Linked DNA regions of Homo sapiens: all the other regions are linked to region 4. The links are contacts of gene promoters, found by promoter capture Hi-C in blood cells and fetal thymus (Javierre and others, 2016). All regions are on one chromosome and are shown on one strand. Each heading gives the region's core, a stretch centred on a gene start or on the middle of the fragment in contact. The rest is flanking DNA. Distances are from core to core; before and after follow the strand shown.

What was found. The method cuts DNA at HindIII sites, captures the fragments that hold promoters and counts their contacts. A CHiCAGO score of 5 or more calls a contact.
Region 1: a contact is called between the fragment with the promoter of SYMPK here and the fragment with the promoter of CALM3 in region 4, in 1 of 17 cell types (neutrophils). The highest score is 5.1, in neutrophils.
Region 2: a contact is called between the fragment with the promoter of SAE1 here and the fragment with the promoter of CALM3 in region 4, in 7 of 17 cell types (activated CD4 T cells, total CD4 T cells, neutrophils and 4 more). The highest score is 6.7, in activated CD4 T cells.
Region 3: a contact is called between the fragment with the promoter of DMWD here and the fragment with the promoter of CALM3 in region 4, in 1 of 17 cell types (erythroblasts). The highest score is 6.4, in erythroblasts.

What each region holds. Positions count from the first base shown.
Region 1 is chr19:45,860,456-45,864,445 of GRCh38, forward strand. SYMPK (symplekin scaffold protein) reads right to left here and starts at 2,692. Exons shown (of 27, transcript NM_004819.3): 1 at 2,603-2,692. It overlaps FOXA3 (forkhead box A3), which reads left to right and starts at 3,871. Exons shown (of 2, transcript NM_004497.3): 1 at 3,871-3,990. RefSeq lists enhancers at 1,717-2,355, 2,607-3,016 and a silencer at 3,657-3,990. The HindIII fragment of the contact is 14,624 bases long and covers 1-3,990 here.
Region 2 is chr19:47,129,572-47,133,595 of GRCh38, forward strand. SAE1 (SUMO1 activating enzyme subunit 1) reads left to right here and starts at 1,264. Exons shown (of 9, transcript NM_005500.3): 1 at 1,264-1,457. The coding sequence starts at 1,360. RefSeq lists enhancers at 1,038-1,652, 1,345-1,584. The HindIII fragment of the contact is 6,112 bases long and covers 1-4,024 here.
Region 3 is chr19:45,790,757-45,794,500 of GRCh38, forward strand. It overlaps DMWD (DM1 locus, WD repeat containing), which reads right to left and starts at 2,089. Exons shown (of 5, transcript NM_004943.2): 1 at 1,560-2,089; 2 at 149-331. The coding sequence starts at 2,000. RefSeq lists enhancers at 460-519, 540-589 and a silencer at 1,738-2,217. The HindIII fragment of the contact is 5,053 bases long and covers 1-3,346 here.
Region 4 is chr19:46,598,915-46,603,123 of GRCh38, forward strand. CALM3 (calmodulin 3) reads left to right here and starts at 2,416. Exons shown (of 6, transcript NM_005184.4): 1 at 2,416-2,523. The coding sequence starts at 2,521. It also overlaps the pseudogene PPP5D1P. RefSeq lists enhancers at 1,681-2,180, 3,909-3,978 and a silencer at 2,311-2,450. The HindIII fragment of the contact is 6,234 bases long and covers 1-3,186 here.

The DNA.
Region 1 (3,990 bases), core at 1,442-3,941, 740 kb before region 4:
TTCAAATTAAAAAAAAAAAGAAAAAAAACCCACACACACAGAGAGAGAAAGAGAAAGAGAGAGAGAGAACACTTAATATGTGCTAAGCACAATTCTAAGATATACATATTAACTCATTTAAACCTCAGACACCAAGGTTTAAATGAATTAATATGTATATATTAGAATTAATATACATGAGTTAGGTTTACATTTTTTGTTTTTTTGAGACAGGGTGTCACTCTGTTGCCCAAGCTGGAGTGCAGTGCCGCAATCTCAGCTCACCGCAATCTCTGCCTCCCGGGCTCAGGCGATCCTCCTACCTCATTTTCCCAAGTAGCTGAGACTACAGGCGAATCCCCATTTAATTTTTGTACTTTCTGTAGAGAAGGGTTTCGCCATGTTGCCCAGGCTGGGAGTTAGTATTTTTAATTTTCATTTTACAGATGAGGAAACTGAAGACCAGGGAGGTAAAGTGACCTGACCAAAGGCATATAGCTTGTAAGAGGCAGAGTCAGCAGCATGGCTGCATATCTTCCTTACCACTATGCTACAGTACTGTTTATCTGAAAGGAATTGTTTTTTACCCCCAGGTCTGTTTACGTAAGCCAAGGATCCTGGCCACCAGACAACCGGCATGGCATGCCGTCCCCAGTCAAAACATAAAAAAAACAGGCCGGGCATGGTGGCTCACACCTGTAATCCCAACACCACTGCACTCCAGCCTGGGCGACAGAATGAGACTCTGCCTCAAAAAATAAAATAAAATAAAATAAAACCCCATAATAAACATTTCCACTTTTTTCATGATAATACATTCAGATCAACCAAAATATTTTACCCTGTTTCATTCTTCTTCTGCTTTTTGGTTTATGCTTTCAGTTTTGTTTTGTTCTTTTTTAAACACACATACACAAAATTCTCCTGCAGGAGCTAGATTTTATGCAAAAAAAGGAAAAAAAATGAAAATAAAAAAACCCATATATACATATTTCCCTTTCATTTACAAAAAGAGCATACACAGGGCCGGGAGCGGTGACTCACGCCTGTAATCCCAGCACTTCGGGAGGCGGAGGCAGGTGGATCACGAGGTCAGGAGTTCAAGACCAGCCTGACCAACATGGTGAAACCCCATCTCTACTAAAAATACAAAAATTAGCCAGGCGTGGTGGTGTGCCTGTAATCCCAGCTACCTGGGAGGCTGAGGCAGGCGAATTGCTTGAACCTGGAAGGCAGAGGTTGCAGTGAGCCGAGATCACGCCACTGCACTCCAGCCTGGGTGACAGAGTGAGACTCTGTCTCAAAAAAAAAAAAAAGGAGCCTACACAGGCCGAGTTTGGTGGCTCAGGCCTGTAATCCCTGCACTTTGGAAGGCTGAGGTGGGCAGATCACTTGAGGTCAGGAGTTCAAGACCAGCCTGGCCAACACAGAGAAACCCCGTCTCTACTAAAAATATAAAAATTACCTGGGTGTGGTGGGGCACGTTTGTAATCCCAGCTACTCGAGAGGCTGGGGTGGGAGAATCACTTGAACCAGGGAGGTGGAGGTTGCAGTGAACTGGGATCGTGCCAGCCTGGGCGACAGAGTGAGACCCTGTCTCAAAAAAAAAAAAAAAGAAAAAGCATATACAATAAACACCAACCTCCACTTCACTTGTTTTCCCTTAATATATGTTGGAGGCCACTATATCAGTGTATAGAGATTTTCATCATTTCCTTTTATCTACCTCATTCCTTTTTAGAGTTGCATAGTATTTTTTATGTGGATGTATTATAGTTTCTTTCAGCCAATCTTCTTATTTAAGAACATTTGGGATGCGTGTAGCCTTTTGCTATGATGAACAGTATCACTGTTTCCCCTTCCCTCTCGATGTACTCGTTAAGAAGTGGTACCCTGCCCCACTGCTACCTAGGAATCTGATGACTACCCTGTTTCCCCAAACTGGCTCTAGGAGTATCTTTTATTCCTTCAACGAACATTAGCTGGGCGTCTCCGGCGTGATTGGCGCTGTGCTGAGAACACAGTGGCGACAGAGACAAACCTAGTCCCTACCTTCATGGAACACACGGTCATAGACATCATAAAACAGCACACAGATAAGAGTCGGATAACAAATTAGACCACACGTGACATGAAGGAACACGGACCGACAAAAGCATTTAACAGGCGGATTTCTGGATGGAGGGCAGGGAAGGAGGGCTTCGCAGAGGAAGTGACGTTGGTGCCGAGACCCGAAGGATGAAATGGGAGTTAGCCAAGCCGAATGGGTAAAAGGATGTTGCAGGCAGAAGGGACAGCCTGTGCAAAATCCCCGAAGCGGGAAAGCGCATGGCAAGTTTAAGGAACCGAAAGGCCAGGGCGGCTGTTAGAGGTGGGGGAAAAAGCAAAGAGGCCGAGTCGAAGCAAGCGAGGTCTGCGGGGCGGTGGCGCCCGGGGGGCCACGTTGGAACTTTGCCTCGAGGGCACTAGGGAGCCAAGGAAGGGTCCTGAGCAAGGGAAGAAACATGGGTCGCGAAAGCCACTGTTCCCCTCTCCCCACGGCGATGCCCTCCCCGCCCGAGCCCCTGCTTCTTTAGGAGCCTCCTCCTTTCGTCTCCGGGCCCAAACGCCGCCTCCCGCTCACCGCAGCTCTGGCCTCCGTTCCCCTCGCGCCCCCTCAGCAGTGCCTCTTCCTACACTCCGCCGCCGCCGCCGCCGCCATCTTCCGTTCGTCGCCGGGAACGGTGCGCACGCGCCACACACCCAGGGCCGCCGGGAAATGGAGTCCAGAGCACAGCCCGACCCCGCCCATGCCTCGTCCCGTGCGAGCGGCATTCTGCCCGCCTCCATACTACGGCGAGCAGACCCTTCATTTCCGGCTCTGGGTCCGGCTAGGCCTTCTGGGAAATGTAGTCCCTTCGGAGGCACCGGGCGGAAAGGGAGCTAGAGCATTCTGGGAAATGGAGTTCTCAGTGGTGCTGAGTCCCTGGACGGCTGGCTGGTCTTGGAGAGTGCGGAGTTCGGGCAGCGAAGCTCCTGGGTCTTGGAGGGGAGGTGGTCTGTTGCCCTAGTGGGGTCTGCGGAGAGGCCCCGATCCCCTCCATCTTTGTTCTTGACCCTTTCAACAGTCTGAAGCATTTCTTTTTCTTTTCTTTTCTTTCTTTCTTTTTTTTTGGAAACGGAGTCCCGCTCTCTCTCCCAGGCTGGACTGCAGTGGCGCGATCTCGGCTCACTGCAACCTCCGCTTCCTAGGTTCAAACGATTCTCCTGCCTCAGCCTCCCGAATAGCTGGGATAACAGGCACGCACCATCACGCCTAGCTAGTTGTTGTATTTTTAATAGAGATGGGGTTTCACCCTGTTGGCCAGGCTGGTCTCAAACTCCTGACCTCAAGTGATTCGTCCGCCCGCCTCGGCCTCCTGCAGTGCTGGAATTACAGGCGTGAGCCACCGCGCCCGGCCAAGTTAAGCATTTCTAGCCGTCGGAAGCCTCAGTCTTCCTGTCTGTCCAATGGGGATGTGATTTCGGGGACCTTTTACGGGTCCTTGTAGTCGCATAGTGGCCCTAGCGTTCTGATTCCCCTTTCTTCCGCCACGGTCATGCAGGGCTCTGGCTCTTCGTCCTCTCCTGCCGAGATGATGAAGCCCCCTGAGGTAGAAAGGCTCCAGAGTTCTGACCTCGGGGCCCTTGGTATCTGCAGCGTCGCTGCGGGCAGCTCCCTCACTCCTGAATCACCCCCAGCTGTCGCGTCCTGGGGCTGCGGCCCCCGGCGCCTGAGGTCTGTCTCCTGGCGATCCCGCAGGGGGCGCCCCAGTCCGAGCGCGCCGCCCTCGGGGAGGCGGGAGGGGAGCCCGGGGCGGGCGAGGGCGGGGGTGTCCCGGCTATAAAGCGTGGCCGCCTCCCGCGGCGCTCGGGACAGCCGTACCCCGGGCGGTCGGACGGGCGGGCGCCGGTGGGAGCTCGGGCCGTGCCCGCTGAGAGATCCAGAGCGCTCCGTTCCCCCGGGGCCGGAGCGGGGGCGGGTGGGGGCGT
Region 2 (4,024 bases), core at 14-2,513, 530 kb after region 4:
CATGAGCCACTGTGCCCTGCCAAAAAGCCTATGATTCTAACATCAGAAATCCTTCCACCTCAGCCTCCCACGTAGCTGGGACTATAGACTCAGTACCACCACACCAAGCTAATTTTTGTATTTTTAATAGAGATAGCGTTTCCCTATATTGACCACCTGGGGCCATCCCTGGTTTTTTTTTTTTTTCCCTTCCTTCCTTCCTTTCCCTCTCTCTTTCCCTCCCTCCTTCCTTCCTTTCTTTCTTTCTTTCTTTTTTTTTTTTTTTTACAGAGTCTTGCTCTGTTACCCAGGTTGGAGTGCAGAGGCATGATCTTGGCTTACTACAACCTCCGCCTCCCGGATTCAAGCAATTATCCTACCTCAGCCTTCCAAGTAGCTGGGACTACAAGTGTGAGCCACCATGCCCTGCTAATTTTTTTATTTTTACTAAAGACGGGATTTCACCACATTAGCCAGGCTGGTCTCCAACTCCTGATTTAAAGTAATCTGCCTGCCTTGGCCTTCCGAAGTGCTGAGATTACAGGTGCGAGTCACCGTGCCTGGCCTATTCCTGTTTTCTTAACGCTCCTCTCTCCCACTGGGCCGTGACTGCCTCTAAGGCAGAGATGTGTTCATTTTTATTATTATTGTATGTCCAGGGCTGGGCACAAAGTGCAACACATAGTAGGGACATGAAAGGCTGGGCACAGTGGCTCATGGTTGTAATCCCAGCACTTTGGGAGGCAGAGGCGGGAGGATGGCTTGAGGCCAGGAGTTGGAGACCAGCCTAGGCAACAGAGGGACCCCATCTCTATGAAAAAAAAAAAAAAAAATTGACAGTTCAATGTCACCTCTGATAAGCCTTCCCTGACCACCCCTGTTACTCTGTAGCCCCATGTCCTGCTTTATTTTTCTCCAAAGCATTTATCATCGCTGGGTTTATATTTATTTCTCTTCGGGCTTTTCTCACTGGATCGTAAACTCCATGAGGACAGGGCTTTGTCGATTTCACTCAATACCGTTATTTTACAACATCCCTATTGCTGGGATCTCAGTATGCACTCCTTAAATATTTGCAGAATTTAAGTGCCACATAAGTGACCACGTGGGCAACGCCCTCGGGGCCTTAAGCCGCGCCATTTTTGGGGCTAGGATTGGTTGGACCCTCCGTCACGTGACATGCAGTCGCCGGATCGCCTTTGAGTCTCGTGAGGTACTTTTGGTCCCAGGCTCCGCGGACGAGGTACTGCGCAGGCGTGGGAGGGTCTGCGCATGCGCAGAAGCACTCCGGGCGTGCTGCCGGCGGCGGTAGGTGGCGCGCGGGTCCGGCGGGCGGTTGGCTTGAGCGGGACCGGAGCTGAGGCAGGAAGAGCCGGCGCCATGGTGGAGAAGGAGGAGGCTGGCGGCGGCATTAGCGAGGAGGAGGCGGCACAGTATGACCGGCAGATCCGCCTGTGGGGACTGGAGGCCCAGAAACGGTCAGGGCCGGCGCGGCTTGAGGCCGCTAGGGTCTGGAGGGGGCGTCTATTCTGAGGCGTTTGCGGCCCGGAAGGAGCGGGAAGGTGTGATTTGAAGGGAGGAGGCGGGAATTCTGTGCTCTGGGATCGTCTCTCTCTTGGGGGGACTGGAGGAGTTGATTGGGGATGTTTCTGGAAGGTCTGGGAAGTGGTTGGGAGGGCCGTTCCGAAGGATGGGAGCTCTGAAGGGGGCGTTGGGGAGTCCTGAGAGAGCGGGAGAATTCAAACTCAGGAAATCCGAGGCCCGAAAGCGGTGATTGTGGGGTTTGATCGCGGTTAGGGGATAAGAGGGGCTGGGGATACGTGGAAAGGGTGAGGTGAGGGACGCAGTTCATTCATTCGAGGGTATGGGACCTGGTTCCGTGCTGCACACAGGGGAGACTGGACTGGCCAACCGGACAGACGGGAGCTTACACTCTTGTGGGAGCTCACGGGCGGGCCAGTCTGAGAGAATGCGGGTTTTGAGGAGTTTTGGAGCAAGTTATCTCAAATGGGAATCTTGAGAGGCTCGGAGAGGCTGGAGGGGGACGGCCGTAGGCTCCCGAAAAGGTTGCTTGTGTTTGGTATGGGGCTGTGTCTTGATAGGACAGGAGACGTAGTTTGGGCATTGTGGAGTAGCTTAGGGAATTCTTTTTTTTTTTTTTTTTTTTTTTGAGATAGTCTCTCTCTGTCGCCCAGGCTGGAGGGCAGTGGCGCGATCTCGGCTCACTGCAACCTCTGCCTCCCGGATTCAAGCGATTCTCCTAACTCAGCCTCCCGAGTAGCTGGGATTATAGGGGCCCGCCAGCACGCCCGGCTAATTTTTGTATTTTTAGTAGACACGGGGTTTCGCCATATTGACGAGACTGGTCTCGATCTCCTTACCTCAAGTGATCCACCCGCCTCGGCCTCCTGAAGTGCTGGGATTACAGGAGTGAGCCACCGCGCCAGGACGTCTTTTGTTTTGTGCAGTTGGGTGACCTCGGTTCACTGCAGCCTCTGGCCTCCCGGGTTCAAGACTTCCTCTCACCTCAGTCTTCTGAGTAGCTGGGATTACAGGCTCGCGCCACCATGCCTGGCTAATTTTTGTATTTTTAGTAGACATGGGTTTTCACCATGTTGGCCAGGCTGGTCTCAAACTCCGGACCTCAAGTGATCTGCCCGCCACAGCCTCCCAAAGTGGTTGGATTACAGACGTGAGCCACTGTGCCCAGCTTGTTTTTTTTTTTTTTCTTTCTCTGTGGCCCAGTGGAGTGCAGTGGTGGGATCACAGCTCACTGTAGCCTCAACCTCCAAGGCTCAAGGGATATTCCCTCTTCAGCCTCCCAAGTAGCTGGGACTACAGGCGTGCCCCACCACATCATCCGACTAATTTTTGTTTTTTTTTTTTTTTGTAGGATGGGGTTTTGCCATGTTGCCCAGACTGGTCTTGAACTCCCAAGCTCAAGCGATCCTCGGCCTCAAGAGATCTCCCCCCATCTCAGACTCCTAAAATGCTGGGATTACAGGCATGAGCTACCATGCCTGGCCTCATTGATCAATATTTTTACTTAGCCTGGACGCAGTGACTCACACCTGTAATCCCAGCACTTTGGGAAGCTGAGTTGGGGGGAGGGGACCTCTTGAGCCCAGGAGTTTGAGACTAGCCTGGGTAATGTTGCCAAACCCAGTCTCTACAAAAAAATACAAAAATTAGCCAGGCATGGTGACATAAGTTTATAGTCCCAGCTTGTCAGGAGACTGAGGTGGGAGCATCACCTGAGCCCCTGGGAGGTGGAGGTTGCAGTGAGCCATGATCACACCACTACACCCCAGCCTGGGTGACAGAGTGAGGCCCCGTCTCAAAAAAAAAAAAAAAATCCACAAGCGTGTGTATATGTGTCAGTTATTAAAGGATGGTGAAGTGAGAGGGTTGTTTTGATAGGTTGGCCAGGGAAGGGCTCTGAAGAGGTAACATTGAGCCTCAGACTTATATGGGAAAGAGCCCTGTGGTCATCTGGGAGAACTTTCCTAGCTAAGAGAACAGCAAGTGCAAATTCCCAGAGGCCCAGGCATGATTGTCAAATTAGAGAAATAAGGTGGCAGGAACCAAATGATTTGAGGAGTAGCTTTTATTCTAAGTGTGTGGGAAAACCTGTTGGAGTGTTTTGAGTGTGGGAGTAACATGATCTGTTTTTTGTTTGTTTTTTGAGACGGAGTCTTGCTCTGTGGCCCAGGCTGGAGTGCAATGGCACGATCTCGGCTCACTGCCATTGCAGTGAATCCGCCTCCCAGGTTCAAGCGATTCTCCTGCCTCACCTTCCTGAGTAGCTGGGACTATCGGCATGTGCCACAACACCCGGCTAATCTTGAGTATTTTTAGTAGAGACGGGGTTTCACCATGTTAGACAGGATAGTCTCGATCTCCTGACCTCGTGATCCGCCTGCCTTGGGCTCCCAAAGTGCTGTGATTACAGGCGTGAGCCACTGCGGCCTGGCCTGGTTTGTGTTTTAAAATGATCGCTCCAGAATAGGTTAAAGTGGTCAGAAATGGAAGTAAAGATTCTGGC
Region 3 (3,744 bases), core at 839-3,338, 810 kb before region 4:
GTCATTAGCTGCTGTCACCCCATTCTCCATCTCTCCCTGGTCCTGCCCCTCTCAGGCCTACACTGTTCCGCAGGCAGCTGCATCCTAATGGCATATAGTGGGTAGGTGAGAAGGCAGAGAAGTTGGGGGCTCTGGGGGCTGCAATCACCTCCTCATTGAACAGCTTGCTGGTGTCCTTTTTGATGAGATCCAGGTACTGCACTTGACCCGCTGAGAAGCCCACCAGCAGCGAGATGGTCTCGGTGGCAGCAGTGAACTGGTTGAAATCGTGGCAGGTGGGCTGGGTGCCCTTGTAGATCCGCTTGTCAATTGGCTTGTTGAGGTCAATGGACTTGAGGGGTGGGAGAAAAGGAGTTAATGGTGTATGCCACTGAGGAGAAGGAAGAGGATGTTGAGGTTGGGGGAAACCACTAAGAGGAAGCAGGGTTAGAACCCAGAGGGAAGTGGGGAGGTGAGTAGGTGGATTGCGAAGGACGGGGCAACCACAGACGGGAAGGGGACCCAAATCACAGACAAGAGTAGCAAAAAAGATGGTAAGGATCCCCCTTGACCACAGTGCCTCCCCAAAGTTGGGTCACCTCTAATTCAGAGACACCCTTGTCCACATAATCAGGGTTCTGGGTCCACACAGTTCCTAAGCTCCGATTCCTTTTAGCCTCACCACTCCATCCTATAACCTCAGCAACTCCCTTGGGACCTAGTACCACACTATTCCAAGACCCCCAAACCTTGAGGTCACCCAAATTTCCAGGACTCTAAAGCCTAACATCCTAGCATTCTCTTCACTTTGTAGTCCCTAAACCGCCACAGTTCTGGGACCCGTCAAACCTCACGGTCTCCCACATTTTAGGCCCATTTATTACCTAGGGGCTCCGAAGGATCCCCATCATTTCTGGGATCACCATAAACGGCCAGGGTTCTCACCACATCGCTTTAGAGATGTCCTGAATCACACCTGCAGATTCCCCTGCCAGGGCCTCTCATTCCCTTGAGAGCTCCCATCAGCTTCCGGACGCTCATCTCCTCCAGGACCCTCATGACTTCCAGACCCCAATTTTCTCTAGAATCCCATTCAGCTTCTGGATCCCCTATCACCTTCAAGGCCCCCATCACTTCTAGACTTCTCCTCATTCCTGGGCTCAATCTCAAGACCCCTCTCCCACACCTCCAGGCTGCAATACTGGGTTCTCCATCACCTCTGGGCTTGCATCACCTCATGATTCCCCATTACCTGCAGAATGCCTGCCACCCCAGAACCCGGGGGATCCCACCTCATCTCAGATACCCCATCATGTCCAATAGTCACCATCCCAGAACTCCTACGCATAACGGGGGTAAAGGGGATTTCCCCCATCACCTCCAAGATGCCTGCCCAGCACCCCGCGGGCCTCTCATCACATTTCAGAATCCTGTACTCCCTCCAATGCTGTCGCCCTACAACGTCCATCACATTTAGAATGCCTATCTCAGGGCCCCATATCAATTCGGGGACCCTCCTATCAGTTCTCTGGAACCTCCATCCTTTCAGCACCCAGGGCCCCACGATGCAGGCCGCTCACCCGTTGGCTCCCACGACGACAGCAGCCTGGGTAGAAATAGAGCTCACGGCCCAAGTTGAAGCAGACGCGGTCTCCCCCCGAGCCCAGCCCCGCGGGCGTGGCGGGCGGCTCCCCGGCCCCGGCGCTGTCCGGCTCCCCGAGGCGCACGAGGCTGAGGCGCACGGCGGGCAGGGCGGGCCCGGGTCCGGGGCCTGCGGGCGGCGGGGACGACGCGGGGCCTGCAGCGCCGGGACCGGAGGCGGAGGCAGGGCCGGGCGGGGGCTGCGGTGGCTGAGGCGGCACCGGAGTCTGGGCGGAAGCCGGACCCGACCTGCGAGCGGCGCCGTCGCCCGGGAGTAGCTTGTAGAAACCCTCGCGCGTGCGGAATTGCGACTTAATCTCCGCGCAGTCCCCCATGGCGGCGCCGGGGCCCGAGCCGCCCTCCGCGCCGCCCGCCGCCATCTTGGGCGCCCCCCGGGCCCCGCCACTGCCGGACTGCCGCCCGCAGCCGGGCCCCCTCCCGGAAGCCGCTGGCCCGCGCCGGAAAAGGTGGGGTCGTCGCCCGGGCAACGCCTCTTCGATTGGCACCCAGATCCGGAGGCGGGACGAATCCCCGCGGTCGCTCGGGTAACGGTGCTGGGACTGTGGGCGGGGCGAGAAGGTGGGCGCGGCCTTTGAGCCTGTGACCGACTTGTGGTTGGCTGCGGGGGCGGAGCCCGCAATGGAAAGAGGCGTGGCCAGTTAGAAAGCTCAAGTCCTTAGCAACCGCGCCCTGGGAACGTTTGCCTAGCAACGGAGGGATTTTTTTTTTTTTTTCCCCCACGACAAAGAAGCCCTCATCCATAGTCCAGCCTTCCCATGAAGTCACAGCCAACCCCAAGTGACCCTGGTCTCTCCTTAGACGCCCAATATACACTCCCCTGACCTCCAGTGTTTCCCACTGACATATTCAAATCCCTGAATGACCACAGCATCTGCTACCATTCTTCCCCACCCTTGGTGACCCACCAAATCCCTGTGTCCCCACACAACTCAGAGGACTTCCTCTGACCCACTATTGATTAATGCTAACTCCAAACATCCTTCATATTTTCCACCAACCTCCAATGTATATTTCCATGATTTTCTTATTTTCAACAACCTCACTTGTCCTCCAAAACCTACCTCTGATTCCCAAATTGTATTGATCCCCACGGTGCCCCAGTGTCCCAGTGATCCACTCGTAACCCAAAGTCTCCCCCTGATCCCAACAGCTCCTACTCATAGCCAGTGCTCCCCATGTCTGCTGAAGCCACCCAGCCCCATCATAGATCTTTCTAGTCTCATGTAGTCAATGGCCTCTACGATTTCTCCCTAGAGTGTCCCAAGGGCATCTCACACTTAAAAAAAAAAATCCTACAATGGTTCGGGCATGGTGGCTCATGCCTGGAATCCGAGAATCCCAGCACTTTGGGAGGCTGAGGTGGGAGGATCGTTTGAGCCCAGGAGATCAAGACTGCTATGAATTCACATCACTGCACTAAAGCCTGGGGGACAGAGTCAGACTCAGTCTCTCTAAAAAAAAAAAAAAAAGAAAGAAAAAAGAATCCTACAATGAAATTGACGTCTTACACCAAATCCTCCACCTCTCTTGCATCCCCACCTTAGGGCTAGCTCTGCCGTCCACTCAGTCAACCAGGCCACAGACCTGGGTGTCTTCCTAGATGTGTACCATTTATCTTCACTCTGCCCCCGCTTACAGCCTCCAAGTCTTTTGCATTCGACCACGTGGAATTCCTCTTTCTCAGTTCCTTGTTCTCCCTGATCCAAGCTTCTCCTCTACCCAAGCCCTTCCCCCACCCCCACATCAACCGTGTCTCTTGGTCTCCCAGATTTCTGTCTCACCCCCACTTCCACCTTTCACTTGGCATGTAGAGAGGTTTTATTTTGTTTTTGTTTTTGTTTTTTTTGAGACAGTCTCACCCTGTCACCCAGGCTGGAGTGCAATGGCTCCATCTCGGCTCAGAGACGGGGTTTCACCATGTTGGCCAGTCTGGTCTCGAACTCCTGACCTCAGGTGATCCACCCACCTCGGCCTCCCAAAGTGCTGGGAGTACAGGCATGAGCCACTGCACCCGGCTTTTTTTTTTTTTTTTTTTTTTTTTGAGACAGAGTCTCGCTCTTGTCACGTGGGCTGGAGTGCAATGGGACGATTTTGGCTCACTGC
Region 4 (4,209 bases), core at 1,166-3,665:
TATTACTGTCTTGTTAGGTTTAGTCACTGGTCCCTTACTTGGTCCATTTGGGGAGCTCATGGTTCCCTGTTTGCTTTGGTTTGTTGTTAATGTACATCTATGCCTTTGCACTGAAGGATTAGTCACTTATTCCAGCCTTCTCCGTCTGGCTTGTTTTGGCTTTTACTGGCTCCATTTGCTTACAGATTCTTCGTAATTGACCTGTTGGTTTCTTTTTTTCTGCTAGGTTGCTGCCTCCTTTTTAGCACTCAGTGGCACCTTAAAACCAGGTTTGCCTTGGCTCTATTAAAGATCAGAGCGTCTCCCATCCCGAATGGGGGAGGTCCCAAAGGGGATATCCCAGTAGCATAGGAAAGCTGGCTAGGGGTTCATTCCCAGGGGAGCTATGGAAGAAACCTCCCACAGCATGGTGCTAACGAACAGCCACTCTGATTTGGCATCTCCTTTGGCCAAGTTATAGAGTAGAGAGAGTTTCCAGGGCTGGGGATGGTAGTCCCACCTCCCCACTTTGTCTGTGGCTATTCTCAGAGGATATTTCTCCCTTGAGGCACTCCTGATGGTTGTATTCTTGTGATTACAGCACTTTGGGAGGCCAAGGCAGGCGGATCACTTGAGCTCAAGAGTTTGAGACCAGCCTGGCCAACATGGTGAAACCCTGTCTTTACTAAAAATACAAAAATTAGCCAAGTGTAGTGGTGGGTGCCTGTAGTCCCAACTACTTGGGAGGCTGAGGCAGGAGAATCGCTTAAACCTGGGAGGCGGAGGTTGTAGTGAGCCAAGATCATGCCACTGCACTCTAGCCTATGTGACAGAGCAAGACTCCGTCTCAAAAAAAATACAGATCTTGTGTGAACTAACAGAATAAGAACTCACTTGTTACCGTGAGGACAGCACCAAGTCATTCATGAGGGATCCACCCCTATGACCCAAACACCTCCCACCAGGCCCCACCTCCAACATTGGTGATCACATTTTAACATGAGATTTGAGACTGAGTAACAAGTGTTAGGATTAAAGGCATGAGCCACCGCGCCCGGCCATCTTCTTTACCTCTCCACTGTGTCAGTTTTATTTTTCTCTTCTTCTCTAGACACTTTGTTCCTCAAGATAGGGGGCAGAGTGGGAAAATGACCATAGTCAGAATCTATGGGAAGGACCCACCCAAAAGGAAAAGGCTTCTTGTGCCCAGGCTGCAGATCCAAACCCCAGGGAAGGACTCTCATTGGTTCAGTCTCCATTCTGTTCCAGGTGGAGCATAATGATTGGTCCAGCCTGACTCGTTTGCCCATCTCTTAACCATCAACATGGTGGGGAGGGGACACGCAGGAGACTGTCAGCTCCTATCCTAAACGGGGGAGGGGGCAGGGGTGATCATTTTCTGAGCTCCTATAAACAAAGTTTCAGTTCTTTTTCCTCCTATGGCTGGAACACTGGAATAAGGAAAGAGGTCGTCTGTCTGGAGAGGCTGGTTGGGGAGTATGGTCTCCCCAGCCCAGCCAAGCTCAGGTCCCTGCATACAGCAGGCGCCTAATTGATGCTTATAGCACGAATGACTGAATGAATACCCCGTTCCCACAGGCTGTCCTGGGATGGTCCTAATTTCACAGACCCTGAGCGGATCAAGAATGAAGCGGGCCCAGGGGTCCCGCCCACCGGCTGAGTGCGTCTTAGGACGCAGAGACAAGACCACGGAGGGCGGAACCTCTGAGCGTTAGGTGGCACCTTGGAGACCCCGCCACCTCCAAAGGCCCAGTTAGGGGCGGAGCTTCTAAACCCTAGCATTTTGGATTGAACCATCGTCCGTCGGTTAAAGGGGAGAGCCGAGAAAGCCCTTCTGCATTTGTCGCCAGCCTTTTTACCACCTCCTGGCCACAGAAACGACGTATTTGCTTCTCTAACGGCGACGCCGTTTCCCCCTTCGCCTCGTTACTCCTCAAAGCCCCACGCGGCCACAGAGTTCAGACTTACCCACCACCACCTTGCAGTGGCTCGCCCCAGTTTGACGCATTGCAGGGAAGGTCGGACCAATGGGCGCCAAGCTCTCATTTCCGCCATGGGCCAGGCCCAATAGTGACGCGGCTCACAGAGGGACGCGTCACGCACCGCCGAGCTGTGCCCCTCCGCCGAAGAAAGTGAAGTGGGCCCGGGAGGCGGGGCGCGCGGCGAGGGAAAGTAGTCCGGCGACGGGAGCGAGCGCGCGCGCGCCCGGCGGCAAACCCAATTCCTGTGCAGGGTGGGGACGAGAGATTCGCGGGCCCGTAGGTGTGGAGCGGGGCGCGGAGGGATCCGTGGGAGCCGCAGTGCGGCGGCGCGCGGGCCGGGTGGGGCGGGGCCGAGCGAGGCGGGGCGCGCGCGGCGGCCGTTGAGGGACCGTTGGGGCGGGAGGCGGCGGCGGCGGCGGCGCGCGCTGCGGGCAGTGAGTGTGGAGGCGCGGACGCGCGGCGGAGCTGGAACTGCTGCAGCTGCTGCCGCCGCCGGAGGAACCTTGATCCCCGTGCTCCGGACACCCCGGGCCTCGCCATGGTGAGTGAGGCTGGGGGGTCGCCGAGGCTGCGGGCTCTGAGGCGGGCTTAACGGGGCAGGACCCCTGAGGGGGCGACAGAGCCCAGAGTGGGGGGCGTCCGGGCCCGGCGAGAGCCTCGGGACCCTTTTCTACCCGCGTTGTCGGGGGCTGTTGAACCCAGAGCGGGACGTCTGGATCACCAGAGGTTTCCAGAAGCGACTTTAGCACCAAATGGGATGTTTAAGTCCACAAATGGGTATCTGAGCCCCTAAAGGGGACATTTGAACCCCGGATGGAGGATCGGGACCCTCAGTGGGACCCCTCAAAAGGATTTTGGACCCAGGATGGGGCGTTGGGTTTCAGGATGGAGGTGTTTGGACCCCAGGGGACGAAATAAGAAAGATGGGCTGGGGAGGGGAGCTATTCGGGCCCTGATGAAGGCGTTTGGTCCTGAGAGGATGCGGGGAACGGGGGACGAAGGGAGGCTGGGCTGCTCCTGGATGGGGTGGTGGAGGGTAGCTGGGCCCGGGCGGGGAGGGGCGACCCCTGGGCTCCTGTGGAGCAGAGGAGAGGGTCAAGGATGGGCGGTCACTTCTACAGATGAGACTCCCGAGGGTGGGGGAGGGTGGGGGAGGGTGGTCTCCAGAGCCCAGCACTGCAGAGGAGGAGGAGGGTGAGGTGCAAGCTTATGGGAGGAAGAGCCTGGGGTGGGTGGCAGCGGAGATTAGAAGATACTCTTGAAGGCTTCCGGGACGGAGAAGGATCAGGGTCGTGGAGGTGGTGAAAAGGGATGGTGAGAGTGGGGCTCGCCAGTAGTCGGGGGACAGGGACCCTTGGGGTTAATTTGGAAGTAGCTAGAAAAGGTTCCGAGGTTACTAGTGGGTTAAGACTGTTGCTCTAGAAAGACAGAATTTTTTTAACGGGGTGGGAGTGTTGTGTTTGGGTCCAAGAGAAGATGGATTTCCAAGGTGAGGGGTGGGGGAGGACTTGGGCTTGGGTGGTTGGGAGGTGAGGTGGAAGGAGAAAATGAATGGCAGTCAGGGGGGCCTAGGTTTGGGGGTGGATGTGGGTAGCACCCTGCCAGTCTCCAGGGACAGGCCAGGACAAAGACGGCTCAGTGTGGATGGGGAGTGGGCTGCAGGGCCCGGAGGAAGCTTTTCTACCGTCCTCCTTCCTCAGGAAGAACGCGGCTGGGTGGAAGACACCGGGGCAGTGGGAGCAGGTGGGCGGAGCTGTTCGGGCCCCTATTGCGCACTGAAGCCTCATGAAATGGGGATGGGAGATCAAAGTTTGGGGTGCCTCGAATGAGCCAGCTTTTTCAAGCCTAGAAGCCTCACTCTGTCGCTGCCCTTTTCAGGCCAAGAGCACTGCCTTTTCCCAGCAGGAGCGCCGGTTTTCTCATGATCCCCAGCCCCACGCACCATGCTGCACCTCGTCACTTGTGCCAAATGACAGTGCAGTACAGTGTGGCGTCAGTGACAATCAGATGCCTATTCCCGTGCCCTCGGGGTGGGGGCTGCAGAGCTTGATCAGAGAGTGCCTCTGGGGAGACCCCTTGATCGGCCTGAGGGCCACTTGTTCCATTCAGGGCCCTCGCTGAGCGTGTCTGTTAATTCACAGGGCTTTGAGAGAAAACCAGCAGACTAGTTCTTTCCTACTCCCTGCCACCCACAACACCCACAGCCCCACCAGGCTGAGCCTGGGAA